Linked DNA regions of Homo sapiens: regions 2, 3, 4 and 5 are each linked to region 1. The links are contacts of gene promoters, found by promoter capture Hi-C in blood cells and fetal thymus (Javierre and others, 2016). All regions are on one chromosome and are shown on one strand. The core of a region is centred on a gene start or on the middle of the fragment in contact, and the rest is flanking DNA. Distances in the headings are between cores, read along the strand shown.

Region 1 (5,099 bases), core at 649-3,148:
CCTGCAGTTCACAAGGCTTAGGTGGGGGTGGCCATTCCGGAGCTTCCCCTGAGGGTGCAGTAGGTTGAACTGTCTCTTTCATATGTTTTTGGAGGTTAGCATACATAACCTCCTGATTCTCCCCCTTTTTTAACTGGAGCTAGATGTTGAGGTGATCAGGCCCAACCCCTTTAATGCCTGCATGATCTCGTTCCCATTCCTGATATTAATAACTTGTATACTGTATGTTTTGCCCCTTTTCTTGATTTATGTAGATAGAGGCTTATCAATTTTATTAATTATTTCCAAAGAATTCATGTTTGATTTTATTGGTTTTCTCTATTTTTTTTTTCTGTTTCAAGATTTCTTCCCTTTAGTATTTCCTTCATCCTCCTTACTTTAGGTTCAATTTGCTGTTCCTTTTCTAAATTTTTAATGTGGTATCACAAATTATTGTTTTCATTTCTGGATCTTTAATGTAGACATTTTTGTCTACACATTGCTTTATTGTTAAAGCATTAGATGAAACGTGGTGCTCACTGCAAATGTAGTCCCTAACAGAGAACTTTCCTACTGCAGTGATCCCTGTAACCTGAATAAAGATTCCCTAAGTAATGATCCAGTGCTTTAATAGTACTAAAAATAAATACTATATTTTGCATCAATTTCTGTAATTAAATAGAATAATATATACCTTCTAGCCAGGTTTAGGCTTCAGAAACAAAATATAATCCTAGTCTTTTAAGGTATCTCAGTTCAGAATCGCGGAGATGCTTTCTCATGCTGCCTGTTCTTTTGGACTTGCCTTCGTTTGCCTGTCAAACCAAGGGACCAAGTGGTCTTTGTTATTTAAGTCATGTTGCTCTGGAATGTAAATTATCCTTACTGTTGGTGCAAGATGTATTCCATTGCCTTGTTCTGCTTTTTAGTGTAGCCATCCTGTGCTTGTATACCCAGGGCCAATCACATTCTATCCTCAAAGAAATGTATGTCTTTCTCTTACAGTTCTCTTTAGAATTATTAGCAATTTTATAATTACTAAAGTGCTATGTAATTCTAAATAAGGTCTCAGCTGTGGGGTATAATGGTAAATTGAGACCCCTTTTACAATGGAAAAATAACTGGTTATAACGGTGAGCTGGGACCCCATTACAATACTCTCAAAGTTTCCATTTTAGTGGTAAGTAGTGTCAGATGTCAGTGTTTAGAATATTTCAGTGGTTCCAGGACCATCTCAGGAGGTGAATTTTGGGCCCATCCTAGTCAGTCCAGTGAAAGTCATTTACTCTCTTTTGCTTCTAGCAGATGACTCATGGACATACCCTGGAAATAAGGACACACTGTGGACTCAGAGGACATACCTGAGGTACTGGGAGAAAGGGGTATGGGGGCTTAGCTGGGAGGCCTGTTGTGCTGAGCAGGGGTTCAGGGGCTCAAGGGTCTTTCAGAATAACTGATAACTCTCTAGTTTTGGCCCAGAAGTTTCTTCCAGAATGTCACAGCATGACCCATGTTTTTTGTCTCACTGCAGAGCCTTTGCAAGGTTCAGTATGGTAGCCACCAGGCATACCAAGCTGAATATTCCTTCTTTCCTTCTGGGGAAAATGCCTGGTGCAAGTTGTTCTGCCTGACTTTGCCTTTTAGAATTCTGACAATGGAGTAGCTATTTAACTTTAAATAAATTGAAACAAAATAAAATTTAAAATTCAGAACTGCAATCACACTCGTCACATTTCAAGCGCTCAGTAGTCACGTGTGGCTAAGGGTCACCATCTTGGACAGCACAGAACAACCCCATCCCTGCAGAAAGTTCTATTAGAGCTGCTGGATGATCAGGTGGGCAGGTCCCTTGCACAAGTAAATCTGGACAGCTCCTCCCCTCACTTCCTCTCTTCTCCTGTTTCTCAACATCCTGGCTTAGTATTGTGTGCAAAATCAGAGAGGGGTGCAAGATCCTGATTTTTCAGGTAAGGGAATAGGGGTGTGTGTGGTGGGGGTCGGGACGAATGTGCGATTTTGGTGAGGAGGGACCTGTATCTTAAATCGTCTGGTAAACATGTTTTCAGACTATATTCTCGCTGGTTCCCGTTTCCTGGCTTTGCTAATTTTAGGCTGTGATCTGTTTTCAAGGCTGAGCCCTACAAATCAATGCCTCTTCCAGAGATTGCTGCTCAGAGGATACTTGTTTTACAAATAAATGTTTCCTCTCGCTGGTTGTGGAATTTATATAGAAACTTTGATTCTTCCAGGGATAAAGTTGGGTGAGCGGACAGAATTAGCTCTGGGGGAGCTGGTGGGAAGAGGAACATTGGGATGTGTAAGGGGCACAGCTCCATATGTGGCCCCACAAAGACTGCACCCAGGTCAGGATTGGAGGCTCTGCAGTCTGAGGTCTTGTTACAGGGTTAACTGTCTGCTCGGAGCTGCCCGTTAGGGAAACTGTCTCCTCAGGGACAGTCCTGGGTTTACTGGGCATTGAGCTCCCCTTTAGCGGGTAGGAGGAGGGAGATGCCACCTGGTGTGACTCTCTACAGTTCAGGAGAAGCTGGATGCTGATGGGTGCTTGTTCCTTAGGCAGAGAGAGGAGAATTCAGCCACCTGAAGTCAGCACCTACAGAAGCACAGTCTCCTGGCTTTGCCTCTGAATTATTAACAGCAGAGCAGCATTAAAGAGCCCACACACTAGAAGGAGGATATGAAGAAACACCCAGAGAATGTCACAAAAACCCAGAATGTCACAGTATTGTTTTCTTCTTGCTGGTGTCCTATCCTCTCTCCTAACACCAGCCACCAAAGCTGATTTTTAAAAAATGCCATGATTTCTCTTGTTTACAAGAAGCTGTTTCCTATACCCTATTCTTGAAGGATAAAGAAATAGTCATTCAAAAGAAATATCTGGCTTTTCACAGTGTTTCATATTTGTTGGCTTCCTATGAGGTGACTCTGTCTTTAACAACTACCATTTTCTGCCTGTTTTGTTCAAAGTCTGCTCCAATAAGAGTTCTTCAAATATCTTTCTCCATTGCAAAATGTTTGTAGGTAGCAATGAAATAAAACATTTAAAATTAATACCATGTTTCTATAACACTACATATTAATTAATAAAGGAATGGATTGTCATTTTCACAGATCAGATGTGGGCTGGACATAATGATCAATCAAAGGCAAGAAGCAGGGAGATTATCCATTTATTTATTTAACAATGATCGATAACCATTCTTTGCCCAGTATTGTGCTTGTCCCCAGGGAATAATGAGAAATACAAGACATATGTGGTCTTCTCATCACAAAGCTTGTAGTATAAGAGGAGACAGTAAAAAAATCAAGCAATTAACTTCCTAAAGTAATACATATTCTGTAAGAAGCCTCTGGGGTGCAGTGGATCATAACAGAGGGTGTTGCTGGTAGACAGTGGTGTTGGGGAAGACTCTCTGGAGAGCCGAGGCCTGCGGGTTGAGCAGGAACAAGCTGGGCACTAGGTTGGAGGGTGAGTGCTCCAAAGAGAAGGAATGATAACTGCAAAGGCCTTGAAGGTGGAAGGAGCCTAGATTTCCAGAACATTGAGGGTAGTGTGGCTCACACATAGGAGAGAGGAGAGAGCTGATCACACAGGGCCTATGGGCCATTCTGAGGACTTCAGTTATTTTGAAACCAATAGTAAGCCACTAGGAAATTTAAACAAGAAAAAATATCAAATTTTAGTTTTAAAAGAACATCTGATTGTAGAGTAGAAAAGGGATTGAAGGGGAGATGATCAATTAGAAGCCTGTTAAGTTGTATACAATTGACAGTGGGTTGTATTAGCACAAAGATGGAGAGAAATGGGTAATTTCGAGTTTTTTGGAAGTGGAATCAATAGGATTTGGTGATGGGCTGATGAGAGAGAGAGGATAAAAGAGTTGTAGATGACCCCAAAGTTCTGCAGGAGCCACGGGGCTAGATGTTGGTGCCATCTGCTGAGCGGGGAGCCAGGAAGGCAGACAGGATGTGGAGGTCAGGGCTTAATTTCGGCCAGGTTCTGTTTGAGATGCCCATGAAATAGCCAAATGGAGTGAGATACAAAAGTTTGGAACTTTTATAAGCTGAGGGAGATATAAAAGTTTGGAACTCTGAGGAGGGTGTAGGCTACAGACCTCATATAAACACATCCAAGCCACGAATCTCTAGATAGAGGGGGGAAGGGGCCAGAACCCCTGTGAGGAAGCACTGGAAGCATTTATGTTTGTGTAAAGAAAAAGGAACAATCTGAAAATGAAACTGAAAATGGAGGGTTGAGGAGACTTTTGGGAAATGGAGCAGGAGAAATCAATGTAGCAAGCTCATGGCAAAAAGAAAGTTGTTGTTGACTACAGGCAGTCAGGGATTCTAGTTGCTTCCATTTCCCTAAAATGACATGGTTATGTTTCTTGATCTACAGGAGTTCAAGCGACAATGGCAGCCCAATACGGCAGTATGAGCTTCAACCCCAGCACACCAGGGGCCAGTTATGGTGAGAGGGCATTCAGTGCTCCCCAGACCAGGCTGCAGGGAGGTTAGCAGGTGGGGGTGGGGGATTTGGGGGGGAATAGGGGTGGGGTTCTCCTGCCTTGCCACCCAGTCCCCATTTGAGCAGGAGAAAAATATTTCCAACCTCTTTTCTCATTTTCTCCTCATTTGACCTGCTCTTTCATCTTTCTTGACCCTCTGCACTTTCTGCCCATGGTGTGGCTAAGCAGCTAAGCAGAAGAGAGATTAAATATCCTCTGATTGACCCAGGGCTCGGCACAGTTTCTTACCTCCTGCTTCCTACAACATGGACACACCAGAACAGCTGGTTGTAGCCTATCTGATTGTTTTTCTGCCCCTTTCTTCAGCCTGGAGGAGAACTGGGAATGAGGAATGTGGGAGTAATTGTCCCTCACCCTGGTATCTAATTTCCCAGCTCCTGGTGGTCTCACTATAACCAACAAATTAAACTGGCTGGCTCATTCAGTGTATCACATGACCCTCCATTTTCTTCCTTACCCATAGAAATTGACTATATCAGTTGAGATTTTGCTGGTTTAATAAACTATCCCAAAGTTTCATAGCTTAAAACATCAGCCATTTAGTTGGTTCTTAATTCTGTGGGTTCACTGGGC
Region 2 (5,416 bases), core at 2,120-4,619, 160 kb before region 1:
TCCTGAAACCCTCGCCCAGGGCCGCTCCGCCGCCGGGCTCCGGCGCTCAGCCCATGTCACCCGGGGAAAGGCCGGCGCCTCCGTCCGACCCTCTTTCCTGTCGCTGGGGGCGGTTTGTGGGCCTGGCCTTGGGATTAGGAAAATAGGGATGGTGCTATAACGGCCGAATGCAGGCCTCAGGGAATCCCGAAAGGGGGAATGTCTGGGTCGGCGGATCGGGGGGCTTGAGAGGGCCCGCTCCGTGGGACGTTCAGGCCCCGGAACCGGCCCCCGCATGGTCGCCGCTCCGGCCCGGGCGGGCGCAGCGCTGGCAGCCCCGTTTTCCGCCAGCCGGGCTGCCGGAGAGTTAGACCTCCCAGCCTCACGGGGCTGCTGTGCGGCTGCGACGACGCCGGCGACTGCGGCGCTGCAGCGGAGACGGAAGGCTCGGGAGGCGGCGCCATGTGAGTGCGCGCGGGGCCGCGCTGGGGCCGCGGCGGGAGGTTACCGTATTTACCGAGGCCAGAGCCGGACCCTCGGGGGCGGGTCACTGCGGGCGTGCTACCGTATTTGCCGGGTCCCGCGCAGGTCCTTTCCGGGAGTGGGAGCGCCGGGACTTAATTACGTATTTATCCAGGGTTGCGTGGCTCCGCGGGGGGGCGCTGCGGCCGTGGGGGGTGGGCTGCATTCATTCCCTCTGGGAGCTGGGGCTTGCAGTCGGGCGGGGTGGGTTGCGGCAGCAGGGTGGAGGCCTACGTATTTTCGTGGGGGTGGGGTTGCGACGCAGAGTTTACCATATTTCTCCAGGGTTGCTCCGGCCGCAGAAGTTGGCAAGGTTGTGTGTAAGGTCGGGTGGGGTGGGGTCAGCTCTCCCGATTAATGCAGCTATTTGATAAGAGCAACGTCGCGGGACGCTTGCCGTCTTTATGGGGGCGGGGAGAAGGGGCGCGGGTGTCGCTGCGGGAGAGTTACCGTATTTGCGTTGAGCAGCGCAGACTGTAGAGCAAAGAGCTGCGGCCGGAGACCGGAGGAGCAGGGGCTCAGCTGGGCTGTGAGTGTGGCATGGGAGGAAAGAACTTGGGGGAGAGACGGGGGGCCTTTCGGCGTGCAGGCGGGGCCTCAGTCAGGGGTATAGCTGGGGAGAGTGAGGAGGCTGCCCAGTCACAGGGCCGGGCTGAGATTGGCCAAGGGGACTTTGATGATCTGTCTTTGCAGATGTCAGTGCAGCTGCCTGTGGAAAAGACTTGTGGGTGGGGTCTCTTGCAAGTAGGACTTGTCTCCTTCCCCAGGGTCAGTTCCACCCCGGCCTCGAGGGTACGGAAGACAGAGGAGGTGGCCCTGAGACCCCACTCTGCAGATAGGTTGACTGAGGCTGGAAGTGAAGAGAGGCCTTCGGGGAGGTCCAGTGGAATATTCAGCCGGCTTCCCTGATGGGGTTGGGGAGAATGGATGAGGCAGGCCTTAGGGCCCTGCAGGAGCCCAAGTTTTGGTGGGGGTCGTGGGAGTGGTGGCAGTAGACAGTGCATCTACAGGAGAAGTGGCCCTTTGGAATGCATGGCTCTGTGACGGCTGGGATGGTGGCAGTGGGGGGTGTGTGTGTGTTTTGAGGAGTGTTTAGTTGTTGAGCAGCTAGTACATTGAAAAGAGCTTTCAACAGTGAGACAGGAGACTTAAGGCCTAGTCCAGGCTCACCTTGCTCTGTGACCTTGGCAAGTATGTTGACCTCACTGAGCCTCAGTTTCCCCATCTTTAAAGTGGGGCTCAATAACCCTGCTCCGCCCCTTTCTCAGGGCTGTTGTGAGGACAATGGGAAACAATTTAAGAGGAACACAGTGTCCTGGGAAGAGGATCCTTTGGAGAAGCAGCATGAAGGGAGCTGGGTTTGGGGGTGTTGGCTGGGCACTGAGGGTGCTGCTCAGCCTTGGGCCAGGCTTTGCTGTGAGGATACCAAGAGGAATCACGCTGAGACCAGTCCCCCTGGGAGCCCACACCCTGGTTCAGTGACTTGGAAACCTTTTGAACACATGCCTCATTTTGATAAACAAAGAGCTGCCGCCTTTAATGTTTAACCGAGGTCACTTTCAAGTTTACAGGGTTGTGTTTTTTTTCCTGTTTTAAGCTTCACAAAAATATCTTTAAATCACTGATAATGCCACCCTTTTCTCCAAGTTTGGGGTGCACTTCCCTACCTCCCCCTGTCCTTGAGATCTGGTTGGAGGGATAAGACATATCTAGACGAAGGTAACTGAAAATCCTAGCTGAAACTGAAACTGAAAATCCTAACTGAAACTCATCACCATCTGTCTAGTGTCTTGTGTGGCTGGCTGGCATGGTGCTAGGTGCTGGGGTTGAAAGAAGGCAGCTCTGTCCTTAGGGTGCTGGGAGTCGGGGGACAGAGGTGGCATGACTGACCCTCGTGCAGTATGATCAGTGAGAGCCACATGGTTGTGTCACACGGTGTTTAAGCCCGGGGTGGAAAGGTCAGGGAAGGCTTCTAGGAGAAGGTGCCCTTGGGAAGGGACTGGAAGGAGTGTAGGCCGTGCTTAAAAGGCAGTGGAGGAAGAGGAACACCAATTCCCAGCAGGGGAACTTGAGCTTGAACAAAACGGGGCGAAAGGTGGAGGTTGTGGGAGGTGAGTGTCCCTGCCAGGCTGGGGGTTGGCTAACCCTCGTGTTCCCCGACCCCTCTCTCTCCACCCCCCACCCCCGCCCCCGCTTCTGTCTCCCTAGGGACTGGTGATTGCAGCTGGAAGTGCCCATGACCGAGCTGGCGTCCTCCGGGGGCGGGTCCCCTGCGGGGGACGGGGAGGAGGGTCTGGGGGACGAGCGAGGCCTGGTCATCCACCACCCTGCAGAGGAGCAGCCCTACCGCTGCCCGCTGTGCGGCCAGACCTTCTCGCAGCAGCCCAGCCTGGTGCGGCACCAGAAGGCGCACGCCGGAGCGGGCCGCGCGGCTGCCTTCGTGTGTCCCGAGTGCGGCAAGGCCTTCAGCGTCAAGCACAACCTCGAGGTGCACCAGCGCACGCACACCGGGGAGCGGCCCTTCCCCTGCCCCGAGTGCGGCCGCTGCTTCAGCCTCAAGCAGAACCTGCTCACGCACCAGCGCATCCACAGCGGCGAGAAGCCGCACCAGTGCGCGCAGTGCGGCCGCTGCTTCCGCGAGCCGCGCTTCCTGCTCAACCACCAGCGCACCCACGCGCGCATGCCCGCGCCGCACCCGCGCCGCCCCGGCGTCTTCGGGGAGCGGCGGCCCTACTTCTGCCCCCGCTGCGGCAAGAGCTTCGCGCGCGAGGGCTCGCTCAAGACCCATCAGCGCAGCCACGGCCACGGGCCCGAGGGCCAGGCGGCCCACTTAGGACGCGTGCTATGATGCGCCCGGGGCCTGCTGCCGACGGCTGCTTCCCGCCCCGCACGTGCGTCCCCGACCCCTGGAGATGGCCCTGGGCCGCAGCTCCCTCTCTAGATGGGATCCCGGGAGAGGGGCAGCGCTGGCTTGGGCTCTTGAAGGTGTGGGCCGCCGCCAGGCTCCGGCCGCCCGCTCGCGTTCCTCCCTCGGGACCCTCTGGCTGGCTGCGCACAGCTGCTTCCGGCTCCTGCCATGGTTCTCCTTCTCTGGCCCATCCGGCCTAGAGCAGGTGAGACCTGCGGGGCTGGCCAGAGCCCCTCTCAGGGCTGGGAGTGGTGGGGGTGGAGTGCGTGGTGTTGATTCTTGATGGCAGGTGGGGCGGTCTGGGTACCGGGCTGTAGGTTTCTCTGTGATGAGCTGCTTACCGGATCTTCATCCCCAGAATGTCAGAGTTGAAAGAGACTTGGAGAGGCCACTTTCCACAAACCCCACGCCCAACCTCAGCCCCTAGGCCTCCTGGCTCCTGTACACACTCTCTGCTGTCCTTGAGATGTCATTTCACTTCATGTTTCAGTTTACTCATCTGTAAGTTGGGGATATAGATGAGGGACTCTTCCTCGCTGGGATATATTGCAGCTACTGGATGAGAGAGGGTGAGGTCACTGGTGCACAGAGCCTTAGTTGATTCTGCCACACCATGTGCCACTGACTGTGCCGGGCTGGGCTCTCCCAGAGACACACATGAGGACCGCAGGCCCTGACACGGGGTGCTCACACTCGGTGTGTGACGCGGGGCCAACCTACAAAGTGCTCTGGGGTGAGACCGAGGAGGGTGACTGGTTTCTCTTCGTCACCCAGGGGAGTTTGATGGCTTTGAACCAGGTCATGGGGACAAATAAAATTGTTCTAGGAAGAGCAAGTGTGTAGAAGGGTGTTTTCAAGGGAGGGGGGGTCCTGATAGTTCAGTGACTGTCTCCAGGTGTCCCAAGGGGAGGTTTGCCCTACAAAGGACTTCGTGGTCAGGGGGTGGGGACACTGAGATTTTTAATGAGATGAGTGCTATGATCTCAGACTTATGCTTTAGGAGGAGAATCAGAGGCACTGTGAGGACAGACTGATGTGGGAAGAGCTGGAGCCTCGAGGGGCTTGGGTCATCTGGGCAAGAGAACATAAGGCCCCCAGCTAAGAGGCCTGGCCAAGGTCTGGCAGTGAGAAAGGGGGCAGCCAGGACTCTGCTCCAGGACCTCTGGTTCCAAGCTGGCGCTCTGAGGCACGGGCCTCTTCAGCCTTTTGGCAGATGAGGAAACAGGTTTGCCAAGCTTGCCTACACCACAGTTGGTACTTAGGGGTACAACAGGTGGAAGCCAGGGCTTTGTTTTGGATTCTGAATCCCAGAACCTTTTAGCTTCACTGCTTAAAAAGTGGACGATGGAGCAGGGAGGATTTGGGGCCATGTGATAGGAGCTGGGGCAGGGGTGTTAGGGGTGGTACGGGTGTTTGAAGGGGACATGGCATCCCTGGGAGTGGTTTGGGAGGAAGGGAGCTGGGGCTTCGAGGGGACCTGCACATTCAGTCCTGTGCTGGGTGCTGGAGACTCGTCCCTCCCCACTGCCCCCTCTGCCCATCCTCAGTGCTATGTGGCTATGGCTCCTCGGAGACTGTCCTCTGCCTACCACTCCCAGGTGCTGTAGACTAGCATTGGTGGCAAAGATGAAATTAAACAGGGGCTTCGGACACCTGGAGTCAGTCACCAAAATGCCCTGAACCCAAGGTGTCTCATCTGTAAATGGGATTCGTAATCCTTGCAGTGCTTGGTAGGGGACAAAGAGGATTCATTCAAACCCTAGGACAGATTCAGGGTAGGCCAGCTGATCGCTCCCTCCTAGCCCCAGAGGGGTGGCTGGGCAGGGCCATGTCACGGCTCCACACCTGATCCTGATCTCTTTGTTTCTGTCGACAGTTGCAGAGTGGGCAGGATCTTAAGACCCGATAGGTGCAGAACCCATCTGGACACGGAGACCAGGAATGGAGTTCCATGGAGGCCTGGCTGGCACTGCACCCGGGCATGAGGACACATCCAGTAAGAAGACC
Region 3 (5,387 bases), core at 2,705-5,204, 210 kb before region 1:
TAAAATGCATTAATAATCTAAAATGAAAACAGTGACATTAGCAAATGAATAGACAAAAAAATGGAACAGAATAGAAACCTCAGACATAAATCCAAATACATATGGGAATTTAATATGTGATAAAGGTGGCATTTCAAATCTTTAGGAAAAAGATGCATTAGCCAATAAACGGTGTTGGAATATACGGCTAGCCTTGTGGAGGAAAATGATGAATGTTGGTTCCTGCCTCACTTTTTACACTATAATAAATTCCAGATGAATGAAATTAAATGTACCAGATGACAACTTGAGGATTTTATTCATTTGTTTGCTTAATAACTTCTTACTGGGGAAGTATAATACAAAACCCAATGCCATAAGAGAAAAGATTGATGAATTTGACTTCATGACTATCAAACGTTTCTCCATGATTAAAAAAAAAAAAATCAGCTTAGGCTGGGCATGGTGGCTCACACCTGTAATTACAGCACTTTTGGAGACAGGCGGGGGGATGGCTTGAAGCCCAGGAGTTAAGGCTGTTGTGTGCTATGACCGCCCCTGTGAATAGCTGCTGCACTCTAGTCTGGGCAACATAGCGAGACTCCATCTCTAAAAAATAAAAAAGAAAGAAAGATATAAAGCCACATATGCAATGTGCTATGTTTCAATTTGTGTAAAAAATAGGAATGTATGCACATGCTTGCACATCGCATTGAGTAATTCTGGAAAGATTTACAAGGAACTTGCAAGAACAGCAGACTCTAGCAAGGCTAACTGGAGGACTACAGGGAGGAGGAAACTTTCGTCCTTTTTTTCTCTTTTTAAAATAGACTTTATTTTTTACTGCTGTTTTAAGTTTACGAATAAACTGCACAAAGTACAGAGGGTTCCTCGTTCCCCCACTGCCCTCCCAGTTTCTCTTATTATTAACATTTTGCATTAGTTTGGTAAATTTGTTAAAATTGATGAACCAATATTGATAGATTATTATTACCTGAAGTACAGTTTACATTAGAGTTTGGTCCCTGTAGCACATTCCACAATGAGGTGTATCCACCATTACAGTATCATAGGAAATGATTTCACCCTCCTAAAAATCCTCTGTGCTCCACCTATTTATTCATCCCTCTCTGTCCCCAAAACCCTGGCAAACACTGGTCTTTTTACTGTTTCTGTAGGTTTTCCTTTACCAGAATGTCTTATCGTTGAAATTATTTTTTACTTCCTTTTGAAATGCTTGAGTTTTTTTGTTTGTTTTGGTTTGGTTTTTGAGACGGAGTCTCGCTCCGTCACCCAGGCTGGAGTGCCGTGGGGCGATCTCACTGCAAGCTCACTGCAAGCTCCGCCTCCCGGGTTCACGCCATTCCCCTTCCTCAGCCTCCTGAGTAGCTGGGACTACAGGCGCCCGCCACCATGCCTGGCTAATTTTTTTGTATCTTTTAGTAGAGACGGGGTTTCACCATGTTAGCCATGTGGTCTCGATCTCCTGACCTTGTGATCCGCCCGCCTCAGCCTCTCAAAGTGCTGGGATTACAGGCGTGAGCCACCGCGCCCGGCCGAGTTTTTTTGTTTTTTGTTTTTAACATGTGTGTATGTTAATTTAATAAAAATTAATTTTTATTTTCATCAAAGGAATACATGCTCACGTTTGCATGTCTGAAAATATCTTTATTCTACCTTATGTTTAAATTATAGCCTTTGTTGGGTGTGGGGGCTCACGCTTATAATCCCAGCATTTTGGGAGGCTGAGGCGAGTGGATCACTTAAGCTCAGCAGTTCAAGACCAGCCTGGCCAACATCATGAAACCCCGTCTCTACTAAAAATACAAAAATTAGCCAGGCATGGTGGCGCACACCTGTAATCCCAGATACTTGGGAGGCTGAGGCAGGAGACTCGCTTGAACCTGGGAGGCAGATGTTGCAGTGAGCTGAGATTGTGCCACACTTCACTCCAGCCTGGGTGACAGGGTGAAACTCCGTCTCGAAAAAAAAATACATACATACATATATATATATGTATCCTTCGTGGGTAAGATTCTAGGTTGAAAAATCATCTTCCCTTGGGATTTTGCCAGCTGTACTGTCTTCCAGCATCTGGGGCTTCTGGAGGGAAGTCAGGTGTTCTGATTCCTGGCCCTTTGATTGGAAGGGGCCTGTCTGTACATTGTCCCATGCTGTTCCTCATCTCAGCAACCGTGGGCTTCCTCAGTTTGCACTCTCCTGCTCCCTAGCTCCAGGATGTATTTCCATGTTATTTCATTGACAGTTTCTCAGTTAGCACTTTCATGTTCTCTAGCTGGAGGATATGTCTTTATGTTATTTCATTGACAATCTCCTTCTCTCCATTTTCTCTTTCTAGAATTCTTTTTTTTTTCTTTTTTGAGAGGGAGTCTTTCTCTGGTGCCCAGGCTGGAGTGCAGTGACGCGATCTTGGCTCACTGAAAGCTCCGCCTCGTGGGTTCAAGTGATTCTTGTGCCTCAGCCTCTCAAGTAGCTGGGATTACAGGCCTGCGCCACCATGCCTGGCTAATTTTTGTATTTTTAGTAGAGATGGGGTTTCACTGTGTTGGCCAGGCTGGTCTCGAACTCCTGACCTCAGGTGATCCACACGTCTCGGCCTCCCAAAGGGCTGGGATTACAGGCGTGAGCCACTGCGCCTGGCCTAGCTCTTTCCGTTTTAGGAGCTTATTCCTAGTTTTAAAATACCATCGTATAAATATAGGATTTCTTTTTTAAAGTTCCATTCATCTCCTTATTTCAGCTGTGGTTTTGGTCTCTCACGTTGGAATCATTCCTAAAAAGCCTGATTGAAAGCTTCATAGGAAGGTGGGGCCCTGTTAATTGGTGGGCTGTGTTGCAGGGTGATCATGCAGCGAGGCTGATTTTTTGTTTATTTAAATGATCCCAAATGTCAGTATTACCTGCATGTCCTTTCTCTGGGCCTGTACAGTCTTTCCAAAAAAGAATCCTCAGAGCTTTTGTCACCACCAGGCTGTTTGTGTTCTGGAGGCCAAGTGGGGTCAGGAGGCTGAGAGCCACCATTTAGCACAGAGACTTTGACTTTACCTCCCCCTATGACCCTTTCGCCCTTACCTGTTCCGTTCCTGCAGAGTACACTCTGGCCTCCTGCAGTGGTGGAGCATTTGAGGGGGCATTCTCCAGTGTCCCCAGCTTCATCCGTCTCTCCTGCACCTTGTGTCTCTTGGTTCAGAGCCTTTTCAGGGTTCAATCAATTCAATTCTCTTACCCCCTGCCGCACCCCACTGCAGGGACTCTGCTCTGCTCAGTCTGTTACCACCATTGCTTCCCCACCATCTTTCTCCTTGTGAATTTATATGTTTTTATTCCTTTGCTATTGTCTTAATGGGGTTTTAGGAGAGTTAAAAGAAAAACTCGGCCAGGCACCATGGCTCGCACTGCAATCCCAACACTGTGGGAGTCCGAGGCCGGAGACCACTCTGGGCGACATAGTGAGACCCCATCTCTACAAATAATTTTTCAGGCTGGGCACGGTGGCTCACACCTGTAATCCCAGCACTTTGGGAGGCCAAGGCGGGCGGATCACGAGGTCAGGAGTTCAAGACCAGCCTGGCCAACATGATGAAACCCTGTCTCTACTAAAAGTAAAAAAAAATTAGCCTGGTGTGGTGGCACGTGCCTCAGGAGGCTGAGGCAGGAGAATCGCTTGAACCCAAGGTGGAGGTTGCAGTGAGCCGAGACCGCACCAGTGCACTCCAGCCTGGGCGACAGAGCGAGACTCTGTCTCAAAACAAATTTTTTTTTTCAAAACTAGCTGAGCGTGGTGGCGCATGCTTGTAGTTGTAGCTACTCAGGAGGCTGAGGTGGGAGGATCACTTAAGGTCGGGAGATTGAGGCTGCAGTGAGCTGTGATTACACCACTGCACTTCAGCCTGGGCAGCAAAGCGAAACCCCATCTCAAAAAAAAAAAAAAAAAGAAAAAAAAAAGAAAAGAAAAGAAGGGAAGCCTTAGATAAATTAAATTTAACAGAGCTAACTGAGCAAAGAACAATTTGTGAATCCAGTGGCCCCTGAACCAGAAGAATAGGTTCAGAGAGACTGGAGCTGCCATGTGGCCAAAGAAGATTTATGGACAGAAAAAGGAAAGTGACAGAAAGAAAACAGAAGTGAGGCACAGAAGCAGCCAGATTGGTTGCAGCTTCGAGTTTGCCTCATGTGAACCTGGTTTGAACAGTTGGTTGCCTTTGATTGGCTGAAACTTGGTGTTTGGCACAAGAGTAGGTTATCGTTTGTTTACACATCCAGTTAGCTCACTGTTCACTAGGGAGGAGAAACCTTTAGGCCGAACTTAAAACACATAAGGAGGCAGCTTTGGGCTAAACTTAATGATTTTCCCTCTTTAGTCAACGTCTCAAAACTTTAGGCATCAATGTCACCCTGTCATCATCATAAATGTACTTATTTGGTCCCAAATCCTACTGGGAAATAGTAGAACAGTGGGTTTTCTAAGGTGGGTAAAGGTGAGAGTATAGGGGACCTCCTTGTGCTGGAATCTCCTGTTTACAATAGAAAAACAAAACCTGGTCTGTCTTAGGAACTATCTGCTTCCTTGAAGTTTCAGTTTGATTATGTCACATTTATCATGAATGACTCCATTTTGATGTGGTCTGTTGAGGCCTAGTGCACAAGCTGAGTCCACCATGGCAAATGCGACAGGAGTGGGTGGGGATAAACATATGTATCTAATCCACCATGTTTAACTAGAATCTATGAGTTACTTAGAAAGACAAATTACTACATTTATGTATATATATACATGCACACACACAATTTTTGGGGAGAGGACATAATTTAGCCCATAACTATATCCTTCCCAAATTCATATGTTCAAACCCAGCTATGGTCTGTGTCCTCTAAAGTTCATGTGTTGGAAATTTAATTTCCAATGCAACTGCGTTGGGAGTTAGGGCCTAATGGGAGGTGTTTAGGTCATAAGGACTCTGCCCTGATGAATGGATGAACACTGCTATAAACAGGGCTTGTGGCTCACACCTATAATCCCAGCACTTTGGGAGGCCAAGGCGGGAGTATTACTTGAAACCAGGAGTTCGAGACCAGTCTCAGCAACATAGTTAAGACCTCCATCTCTGAAAAAAAAAAAGCTTAGCTGGGCATAGTGGTGCATGCTACTTGGGAGGCTGAGGCAGGAGGATCCCAGCCCATGAGTTGGAGGCTACAGTGAGCTATGAGTGCACCACTGCAACCCAGCCTATGATTGCACCACTGTACCCCAGGGCAAGGCAAGTGAGACCCTGTCTCAAAAAAAAAAACAACAAAAACAAAACAACCAACAAAAAAACTACCACTAGATGGAGATGCCGAGCACAACCCATGTCCGTTGCTCTTTAAACTTAGGGGGTTCTATAGTT
Region 4 (5,306 bases), core at 750-3,249, 130 kb before region 1:
TGTTCTAGAGAAAAACAAAATTTTAAGGACTTTTTCTTTGTGCATATGCCTCAGGTAGGCATCATGTGGGCCTAGGCAATAGGACCTAGGAAGGAGACTCCCCTGTTCCCAGGCCTGCCGCTCCTACTCAGGAGGCTGAAGGGTCCCCACCCCAACTAACCACAGAGTCAGACACATTCTTCCTAACACACCTTCCTCCCGACCTCCCAGCTTCCCTCTTTGTCACTGAAGTCATAGACTTTTTTTTTTGAAGAATTATCAACCTAAATAACAAACAGAAGCGATTCTCCAAAGATGATGAATTTATTTGGAAATGAGCAGCATGATTGTGATGCGGAGTGCCCGTGCCACAGCAGCCATGGGCGCATCCAGGAGGCTGAGGCAAGGGGAAGCTTTTAAGGGCACAAGGAAGACTGGGTGTGGTGACTCACGCCTATAATCCCAGCACTTTGGGAGGCTGAGTCGGGTGGATCACTTGAGGTCCGGAGTTCAAGACCAGCATGATAAACATGGTGAAACCCCATTTCTACTGAAAATACAAAATTAGCTGGGCATGATGGCACATGCCTGTAATCCCAGCTACCTGGGAGGCTGAGGCAGGAGAATCGCTTGAACTTGGGAGGCAGAGGTTGCAATGAGTCAAGATCGTACCATTGCACTCTAGCCTCGGCAATAAGAGCGAAACTTGGTCTCAAAAAAATAAAGGCAAAAGGAGGAGTGCACAGGAGTTGTTGAGTTGTTTTTGAACAAAGAGAACATTGGTTACTTGGGCACAGGAGTTGAGGTCAGATTCTTAGTGGAGATGGCATGTGAGGTGAGAGTGCTCCAACATGTGGCCGGCCGTCCAGTGACTCCTGTGGCAGGCTGCAGTTGGGAAGGCCCTTGGAAATAGTCCTTATTACAGGCATATGTGTGTCACAGCCTTCAGAGAGTCTTTGTAATAGTCCTTTTTTTTCCTTTTCTTTTTAGAAATGGGGTCTTGCCTTGTTGCCCAGGCTGGAGTGCAGCAACGTGATCATAGTTTACTGTAGCCTGGGCTCAACTCCTGGGCTCCAGTGATCCTCCCGCCTCAGCCTCACAAGTAGCTGGGACCATAGGTGTGAGCCACTGTGTTTGGCTGTAATCGTTGTTATTGTAGGCGCATGTGCATGAGGACCCTCCCTTCTTAGGCTCCTGACTCTACTTTGCTTGGGTTTGAAACAAGTGACTCCATCTTGAAATGGACAACTGGCACAGAATAGAGCATTTCAAGGGCAGATTAGATGGCAACTTAAAAAAAAGGTAAAGAAAAATTAAAGAAAAAATTAAAGGTAAGGAAAAATTTACACTTTCTAGGAACTTCACGAAGGAAGGGAAACATGAGACAAAGAAAGAGAAGTGGTTATCAGAAACTAAACTGCACGAGGCTTGTGAGGTTTCTCATGTTCCTCCTGGAACTTCCTCCTAGACTGTATTCTGCCATCTGCTCTGGGGTCACGAGGGAAAGGGCCCCTCTCCTTTCATGGCCTAGAAAGCGTGGCTCTGAGCCATTCTTTGGGCTGAGGTGGGTGTCTGGGGTGCTGGTGGGGACAGCCAGGCCCTGCCTTCCTGGGTACCTCTTGCTGCTTGTCAACAGACCCTGCCCTCCATACTGTGAGGGATTGAAGGATTAACTCCAATTCTTTCCTGTCCTCCATTCATACCCATGCCATTGCTCATCTTGGGCGGACTGTATTTCCCTGCCCATTGAGTTTCGGTTTGGTCTTGTGACTTGCTTTGGCCACTAGAATGGGGCAAAGTGAGAGGGTTCCCGTTCTCAGCCTGCCCCTTGTAAGACCCTGCAGGCTTCTGCTGGCCTCCTGGGTTTCTGCCCTTGCCTGGGGGCTTTCCCTGGGTGGTTTCGGTTCCTTCTACTTGGTACCTGAAATGAAGACATGTGGGACAAAGCCACTCCAGCTGACCTAGAGATCAACAAGATGAAGCCAGTAGACCCACAGATGACTGAGAAATGTGTTTATTGCTGTATCTGTGCCATGTCGATTTTTGTGGTTGTTTGCTGTATGTCACTATTTTGGCAATAGCTATATATTCCCTTTTCCTTCTTCTCTGTGCTCTGGTCTGAATTAATGCCTCTTTGTTTCATCTCATTTCCCATTGCTTTTCACTTTATTATAAAAGCACTGCAATTTATACATTGAAGCAGAAAAGAAGGGTGGAATCCCCATAATTCCATACCCTTCTGTGAATACACTGGTGTCCAGACTGTTGGAATATATTCATTTATTCTCTCTTCATATGTACATTTAAAAGATGAATCAATTCTTTTTTTTTTAAAAGCAAATTGTTTCATTTAACAATACATGGTAAATATACTTGGTGTTAGTGCTGTCTTCAGGGTTCCGTGGAGCGTTTTACAGTCTTCTTTTTAGCACCCTCCTAAAGATGTTGAAGGAGGTGGGTGATGGGGTTGCCTGACTCCTTCACCAGGAGCATCCTCACATCCATCTCTTTCACACATTGGGGTTTCACATGCGCGTTTATTTGCAAAACAGGGCTCTGCTACAAAAATCACCAGTTGAAAATCACCAATCTAAAAACTGCTTTTTATGTGTTTTAATGATATACCATGCAACATTATTATAACCAATCCCTTATTTGAAAATTTAGGTTGTTTTGGGTTTTATAATTAAAATCACATGCTTATGGCATATATTTGTGTATACTCTTAATTATTTCCTTACAATAAATTATTAGAAGTGGACATATAATTTCTATAAGTGTAGGTATAAAATCCTGGCAGTAGAATTTCTAAAAGTGGAAAGCATATGTTCATGTAAAGGCTGCTAAATTGCCAAAATACCCTCCCAAAACCTTATCAGTTACTCTTCCACTGGCAGTGATGCCAGGTAGAACCTCTGACTGTTTGGCAAATGAATGTTTGTATCTTGTGGCTTTAAATTACTGTTCTTTACTAATTAAATGAGGCTATTTCTTCATATAGTTATTACCATTTGCATATCTTGTCTTGTGAATTTTTTGTTTATGTGCTTTGAGCATTTTTTTTGACTAGGATGTCATCTTTTTCTCATTGATTTATAATACCACTTATATATGCTATGTTAGAAAGAATGCTGGATTATAATTTGATGTATTAAGATGGTCTGGCTGGCATTACAGATTAGTAGAGAGTAGAGGATGAAATATCCAATAAGCAGTGCTAGGACAACTAATTATTTATATGAAAAAATAAAATTTTATATATATAATTTTTTAAATTATAAATTTTATAATTATAAATTATAAAAATAAGAACACTCTGTTGCTCAGGCTGGAGTGCAGTGGTGCGGTCTTGGCTCACTGCAACCTCCACCTCCCAGGTTCAAGTGATTCTCCCGGCTCAGCCTCTCGAGTAGCTGGTAGGTGAGCCCCACCATGCCCCCACTAATTTTTTGTATAGAGATGGGGTTTCACCCTGTTGGCCAGGCTGATCTCGAACTCCTGACCTCAAGTGATTCACCCACCTCGGCCTCCCAAAGTGCTTGGATTACAGGCGTGAGCCTCCGGGCCGGTCATAAAATTACATTTTTATCTCACTCTATTCACAAAAAATTCCACTGTGAAAAAAAATAAAGCTTCCAGAAGAAATATGAGGAAGATTTTCCAGTTTTTAAGGTACACAAAAAAAGCACAAATCATAAGAGAAAATATTGATAATTTTGACCAGATCAAAGTTCTGTATAATAGAAGACATTATAAACTACATCAAAATACAAGCCACAGACTTTGAAAAGACACCTGCAAAGCATAAAATAGTGAATTATTAGTACAGATGCTCCTTGATTTACGAAGGGATTATGTCCTGATAAATTCATTGTAAGTTGAAAATATAAATGGAAAAGGCATTTAATATATCTAACCTATGGAACATCATAGCTTAGCCTAGCCTACCTTAAACATGCTCAGAACAACCACCCGAGCCTATAGTTGGGCAATAGTCATCTAACACAAAGCCTATTTTATAATAAAGTATTGAAAAATCTCATGGAATTTATGAAATACTGTGGAGCGTTATGAGAAAGTATTGTACTGCGTATTGCTAGTCTGGAAAAAGATCAAAATTCAAAATGCAAAGTACAGTTTCTACTAAATGCATATCGCTCTCTACTATTGTAAAGTTGAACAATTGTAAGTCAAACAATCCTAAGTGTAAGTCAGGGACTATTTGTACATAGAACATAGAAAAATGGATGTGGTGTCTCACACCTATAATCCCAGCACTCTGGGAGGCCGAGGTGGGAGGACTGCTTGAGCTCAGGAGTTTGAGATCAGCCTGGGCAACATGGCGAAAGCCCATCTTACAAAAAAATACAAAAATTAGCTGAGCATGGTGGTGCAAGCCTGTAGTCACAGCTACCTGGGAGATTGAGTTGAGAGGATCACCTGAGCCCAAGAGGCCGAGGCTGCAAAGATCCGAGATTGCACTACTGCACACTAGCCTGGGCAACAGAATGAGATCTTGTCTCAAAAATAAAAAAGAAGAACATATAAAAATGTGGAACATAAAATATAGGATATAAGAAACATACAGCATATCAAATGCCTATAACTTAATAAGGAATGTGCAGACAACCCAATAAAAAATTGGGCAAAGGATATGAACAGGCAAGACACAGAAGACATTTAAACATTTAAAGCATGCTCAGCCTCACAGCTAATCAAACAATCTGATACCATCTCACACCCACCAGTCTGGCAATAAAGTCTGATAATACCAGCTATTGGTGAAGATGTAGAGAAATGATAACTATCAACCACTGTCAAACACAAATGTAAGTTTTTATAAACAGGACAGCAATGTGATGATATCCAGTGAATTTAAAAATGTGCATTCCCTAGGACAAAGAAATTTAACTTTACAGTATAGACTCCAGGGGAGCTCTCATCTGTATTTGTGTTAATTGTAACCTTATTTGTAGTAGGAAAAATTGGAAGCAGCCTGTAGGTTCATCACTGGAAGGGTATATAAAGGGCTACAGCTGTATCTGAAATATTTTCACTTAAAAAATCTGGAGCAAAAATGACAAACTGCTTAGACTTAATGAGCTGGGTGTTGAGTACACGGGTTATTTTCCATGCTTGTTCACACACTGTGCAATACCTTGTTTTAAAAAGATGATATTGTATTAGGAACCCAGGAATACCCTGATCCAGCTCCAGACCACAGTCAATCCTCCTTATTTTGTCTAGGCTGACCCTGGGGCTGGAATCTGTGGCACCTTCAAAAAGAGTGATGTGGAGGGTAGAAAGAAGCGTCACCTGTGGCAGGA
Region 5 (5,075 bases), core at 866-3,365, 200 kb after region 1:
ATTTAAAAATGTTAATATCTACAATGTGCTAGAAATTACATCCTTTGCAAATATTCATGATGAAAAAATTTTAGAAGTTCAGCTTAAAATCAAGAGAAGACCTAAATTTTTAAAAATCCCTTTAGTGAATACAGAAGTAAAAAAGTTTGAAGACCATTGCCTTAAAGAAAAACTTACATGAATGCATAAGGATATTTTGTAAGAAGACTCATGATAGTAAAAAGCTACAAACAACCCAAATATTCATCAATACTGCATTGGATAAGCAAATTATAGAATATCCACACAGTGGAATGATATTCAGCAGGAAAAATGAACAAAACACAATTACCTACATCAACATGAATAAATATCATATACATAATGTTTAATCAAAGAAGAACCGTTCTTTTCCCAGAAGAATACAGAATCTGATTCCATTTTTGACAAGGTTAGTCGTGGAAAAAAACTAAAAATATATATTGTTTAGAGCAACAGACATAGGTGATACAAAACTATAAAGAAAAGCAAGGAAAGGCTGGGCGCGGTGACTCACGCCTGTAATCCAAACTCTTTGGGAGGCCAGAGCAGAAGGATTCCTGAGGACAGGAGTTCGAGACCAGCCTGGGCAAAACAGTGAGGCCCTATCTCTACAAAAAAAAAAAAAAAATTGGCCAGGTGAGGTGGTGCACAAGGTGATCTTGCTACACAAAAGTCCAAAGTGGGAGGATCGTTTGAGCCCAGGAGGTCAAGGCTGCAGTGAGCTATGATTGCACCACTGCACTCCAGCCTAGGCAATGGAGCAACACCCTATCTCAAAAAAAAGAAAAAGAAAGAAAGTGAATGATTAACACAAAAGAGAGGATAGTAATAATACCCTAGCGACAGGGAGAGGAACTCATGGAGGTGGGATGGGAAGCTTCGAAGGGCAATGCTCTACTCCTTAAACTGGGTATGGCTTTATTGAGCTTTATGCTGTACATATACTCTTATATATATATATTCATGATATACTTAACTATAAATATAGCTCAACCATATTGAAAAACATGAAACAAGACCTGAACAAACAGAAAAACAGACCATGTTCTGGTATGAAAATACTTACCACTATGAAGATATACATTCTTCCAAAATGGATATATACATAATTAAATTCCAATTGAAATCTGTTGTTTTTGTGTGTGGAATTAGATATGCTTTCTTCAGGCTCCCTTGTGCGGAAAAAAAATGCCTGAACATAAGTTAGTCTGGCATCGGCATAAAACACACAAATAAATCAGTAGGACAATATACATAGTACATAATGAATCCTAGTTAATAATGGGAATAAATGTATGAAAAAGCAGAGGAAAATTGGTTATTTAGTTAAGTGGTGAGGAAAAAACAGCTTTCCAATTAGAAGAAAGTAAAGCTGGGCTGCTACCTCACACTACATAAAAATCCAAGAGGCCGGGCACAGTGACTCACACTGTAATCCCAACACTTTGGGAGGCTGAGACAGGTGGATCACGAAGTCAAGAGATCGAGACCATCCTGACCAACATGGTGAAACCCCATCTATACTAAAAACACAAAAATTAGCTGACCGTGGTGGTGCCCGCCTGTAGTCCCAGCTACTTGGGAGGCTGAGACAGGAGAATCGCTTTATCCCGGGAGACGGAGGTTGTAGTGAGCCGAGATCGCACCACTGCACTCCAGCCTGGCAACAGAGCAAGACTCCATCTAAAAAAATAAAAAATAAAATAAAATCCAAGAAGGATTGAATTTGTGTCTGTAAAAAAATAACATGAAAATCTTAAGACAAAATACAGGAGATTATATGTACAAGCCAAGAGTTGAATGTACTTTCTTAACCAAGACATGAAGCCAGAAGTTATAAAAGAAAAGATGGCTTTAAAGTGTTTAATATGGCAAAGATGCCATAAACAAATTTAAAGATAAAAAAATAAATTTTTCTCTTGAGCCCAGGAGTTGTAGGCTGCAGTGAGATCTGATTGCACCACTGAAATCCAGCTTGGGTAACAGAGTGAGACCTCATCTCTAATGAAAAAAAAAAAAATTAAGATGAAATTTTAAAATCTATGTTACCAAAAAAACTCACAAAAATAAAAATGTGCAACATCCTTAGACTGTTCACAGATGAACAATCAATGGCCAATACACATGTGAAAAAAATTCACTTCATAATGAAGGAAATGAAAATCAAAACAACTTGAAAGCATTGTAAAAAGTTATATACTATTGACAAAAATTAGGGGTGAGCTGAGGTCTGGAGGTCGAGATCAGCCTGACCAACATGGAGAAACCCCATCTCGACTAAAAATACAAAAGGCCGGGTGTGGTGGCACATGCCTGTAATCCCAGCTACTCCGGAGGCTGAGGCAGGAGAATCGCTTGAATCCGGGAGGCGGAGGTTGCAGTGAGCCAAGATCGCGCCATTGCACTCCAGCCTGGGCAACAAGAGCAAAACTCCATCTCAAAAAAAAAAAAAAAAAAAAAAATAGTGGTGAGGTTGGGAAGAAACGCAAAAGATGCTTTAATGCATTGCTGGTAAATGTAAATTATTACAGCCTTTTAAGAAAGCTCTCAATAGGATTTATTTTATTTTAAAATATTTATACACTTTAATGCATCAACCCTATTCCAAAGACTCCGTCTCATGGCAATAAAAGCTCCAGTTAGTATAGTCTGGTTTTGCAGAATTGTTTCTAGAGGCAAAAACATAGGAAGAGAGGTAAAAGTGCATCAGTAGGGATACTCATATTGGTATACTCATATCATGGAAATATTATGCAGCACTAAAAAGGATTATTAGAATGGCTAAAATTAAATACACTGAACACACTGAGTGTTGGTGAAGATGTGGAGGGACTGGTGGTATATAAAATGGTGCAATTGGCCGGGCTCAGTGGCTCACGCCTGTAATCCCAGCACTTTGGGAGGCCAAGACAGGCAGATCACCTGAGGCCAGGAGTTCAAGACCAGCCTGGCCAACATGGCGAAATGCTGTCTCCACTAAAAATACAAAAAAAAAAAATTAGCCAGGTGTGGTGGCAGGCGCCTATAATCCCAGTTTCTCAGGAGACTGAGGCAGGAGAATTGCTTGAACCCAGGAGGCGGAGGTTGCAGTGAGCTGAGATCACACCAGTACACTCCAGCCTGGGCAACAAGAGCAAAACTGCATCTCAAAAAAAAAAAAAAAGTGGTGCAATGACTTTAGAAAACAATTGGCCAGTTTCTTAAAAAGTAATCTTACACACCCATAATATGACTCAGGCATTCCACTCCTAGGTATATTCCTAAGAGAAAAGAAATCATGTGTTCATAAATGTCTTATACCTGATCATTCATAAAGCTTTATCTGCAATAGGCAAAAGTTGGGAATAAACAAAATATCTATCAACAGGTGAATGGATAAACTAACTGTAGCATATCTATACAATGGAATATGACTTCTCAATAAAAAGATATGAGCTACTGATTCACACAACATGGGTGAACCTCAAAATTATTATGCTCAGTGGAAAAAGTCAAACAAAAGGAGTACATATAGTATATATGGTGTGATTCCACTTACTCTAGAAAATGCTCACTATTCTATAGTGACAAAAAGCAAGTCAGTGGCTGCCCGGGGATGGGGGTGAGAAGTGTCAGGAGGAAGGACTGACAAGGGTCATGAGGATATTTTGGGGGGGGCCAATGGATATGTGTCAAAACTTATTAAATCGTACACTTTAAATATGATTCTCTCTCTCCCACTCTGTCTCTCTCTCCCTCTGAATTCTCCCTCTCTCTCCCACTGAAAACTGGAATAAGACAAGGATGACCACTCTCACCACTCCTATTCAATATGGTACTGGAAGTACTAGCCAGAGCAATCAGGCAAGAGAAAGAAATAAAAAGCATTCAAATAGGAAGAGAGGAAGTCAAACTATCTCTGTTTTCAGACAATATGATTTTATATGTAGAAAACCTCATAGTCTCTGCCCAAAAGCTCTTACAGATTCAAGACAAACAACTTTAAGAAAGTTTCAGGATAAAAACTCAATGTACAAAAATTAGTAGCATTTCTATACACAAACAACGTCCAAGCTGAGAGTCAAATCAAGAATGCAAGCCCATTCGTAATAGCCACGCACACAGAAAAAAATAAAATACCTAGGCATTTTCAAATCTCTTTCAGTAAAATATCTTTCACCTCCCTAACCAAGGAGAGTTTTGTAATTCTCAACCCCAGTGAGGCGAAAGATCTCTACAATGAGAATTACAAAACAATGCTCAAAGAATTTAGAGATGACACAAACAGATGAAAAAACATTTCATGCTCATAGATAGGAAGAATCAATATTGTTAAAATGGCCATACTGCCCAAATCAATTTACAGATTCAATGCTATTCCTATCACACTACAAATTACCTTTTTAAAGAATTAGAAGAAACAATTCTAAAATTCATATGGATCCAAGAAAGAGCCCAAATAGTCAAAGCAATCCTAAGCAAAAAGAACAAAGCTGGAGGCATTACATTACCTGACTTCAAACTTTCCTAGAGAGCTACAGTAACAAAAAACAGCACGGTGTGGTACAGAAACAGACATATAGACCAATGGAACAGAATAGAGAGCCCAGAAATAAAGCCACACACCTACAACCATCTGATCTTCAACAAAGTCAACAGAAACAAGTAATGGGGAAAAGACATCCTAGTCAATAAATGGTGCTGGGATAACTGGCTACCCATATGCAGAAGATTGAAACCGGACCTCTTCATTTCACCATATACAAAAATCAACTCAAGGTGGATTGAAGACTTAAATGTAAAACCAAAACTACAAAATCCTAAAAGAAAACCTAGGGAATACCATTCTAGACATAGGCCCTGCCAAAGATTTCATGACAAAGATAACAAAAGCAATTGCAACAAAAACAAAAATTGACAAATGGGACCTAATTAAACTAAAGAGCCTCTGCACAGCAAAAGAAACTACCAACACAGTAAACAAACAACCTACAGAATGAGAGAAAATATTTGCAAACTATGTGTCCAACAAAGGTCTAATAACCAGAACCTATAAGGAACTTAAACAAATTAAC

Evidence for each region. The method cuts DNA at HindIII sites, captures the fragments that hold promoters and counts their contacts. A CHiCAGO score of 5 or more calls a contact.
Region 2: a fragment that was not itself captured here is called in contact with the fragment with the promoter of GIMAP4 in region 1 in 1 of 17 cell types (non-activated CD4 T cells); the score reaches 7.1 in non-activated CD4 T cells.
Region 3: a fragment that was not itself captured here is called in contact with the fragment with the promoter of GIMAP4 in region 1 in 1 of 17 cell types (non-activated CD4 T cells); the score reaches 6.1 in non-activated CD4 T cells.
Region 4: a contact is called between a fragment that was not itself captured here and the fragment with the promoter of GIMAP4 in region 1, in 1 of 17 cell types (non-activated CD4 T cells). The highest score is 6.7, in non-activated CD4 T cells.
Region 5: a contact is called between a fragment that was not itself captured here and the fragment with the promoter of GIMAP4 in region 1, in 8 of 17 cell types (total CD8 T cells, naive CD8 T cells, non-activated CD4 T cells and 5 more). The highest score is 11.4, in total CD8 T cells.

What each region holds. Positions count from the first base shown.
Region 1 is chr7:150,565,492-150,570,590 of GRCh38, forward strand. It overlaps GIMAP4 (GTPase, IMAP family member 4), which reads left to right and starts at 1,899. Exons shown (of 3, transcript NM_018326.3): 1 at 1,899-1,946; 2 at 4,397-4,468. The coding sequence starts at 4,411. The HindIII fragment of the contact is 6,433 bases long and covers 1-3,269 here.
Region 2 is chr7:150,404,875-150,410,290 of GRCh38, forward strand. LOC728743 (zinc finger domain-containing protein LOC728743) reads left to right here and starts at 802. Exons shown (of 3, transcript NM_001395976.1): 1 at 802-1,030; 2 at 2,710-3,614; 3 at 5,286-5,416. The coding sequence starts at 2,738. The coding sequence ends at 3,349. RefSeq lists a silencer at 105-564 and enhancers at 1,273-1,781, 2,075-2,124. The HindIII fragment of the contact is 2,546 bases long and covers 2,097-4,642 here.
Region 3 is chr7:150,351,278-150,356,664 of GRCh38, forward strand. The region is part of intron 2 of LOC107986858 (a long non-coding RNA gene); the gene reads left to right. Among named protein-coding and RNA genes, the nearest start is that of RARRES2, 12 kb to the left of the region's middle. The HindIII fragment of the contact is 2,327 bases long and covers 2,792-5,118 here.
Region 4 is chr7:150,434,061-150,439,366 of GRCh38, forward strand. All of the region lies in intron 1 of LINC00996 (long intergenic non-protein coding RNA 996), which reads left to right. Among named protein-coding and RNA genes, the nearest start is that of LINC00996, 3.1 kb to the left of the region's middle. RefSeq lists enhancers at 1,486-1,705, 1,926-2,025. The HindIII fragment of the contact is 3,219 bases long and covers 391-3,609 here.
Region 5 is chr7:150,769,220-150,774,294 of GRCh38, forward strand. The region is part of intron 2 of LOC105375566 (a long non-coding RNA gene); the gene reads right to left. Among named protein-coding and RNA genes, the nearest start is that of TMEM176B, 29 kb to the right of the region's middle. The HindIII fragment of the contact is 2,439 bases long and covers 897-3,335 here.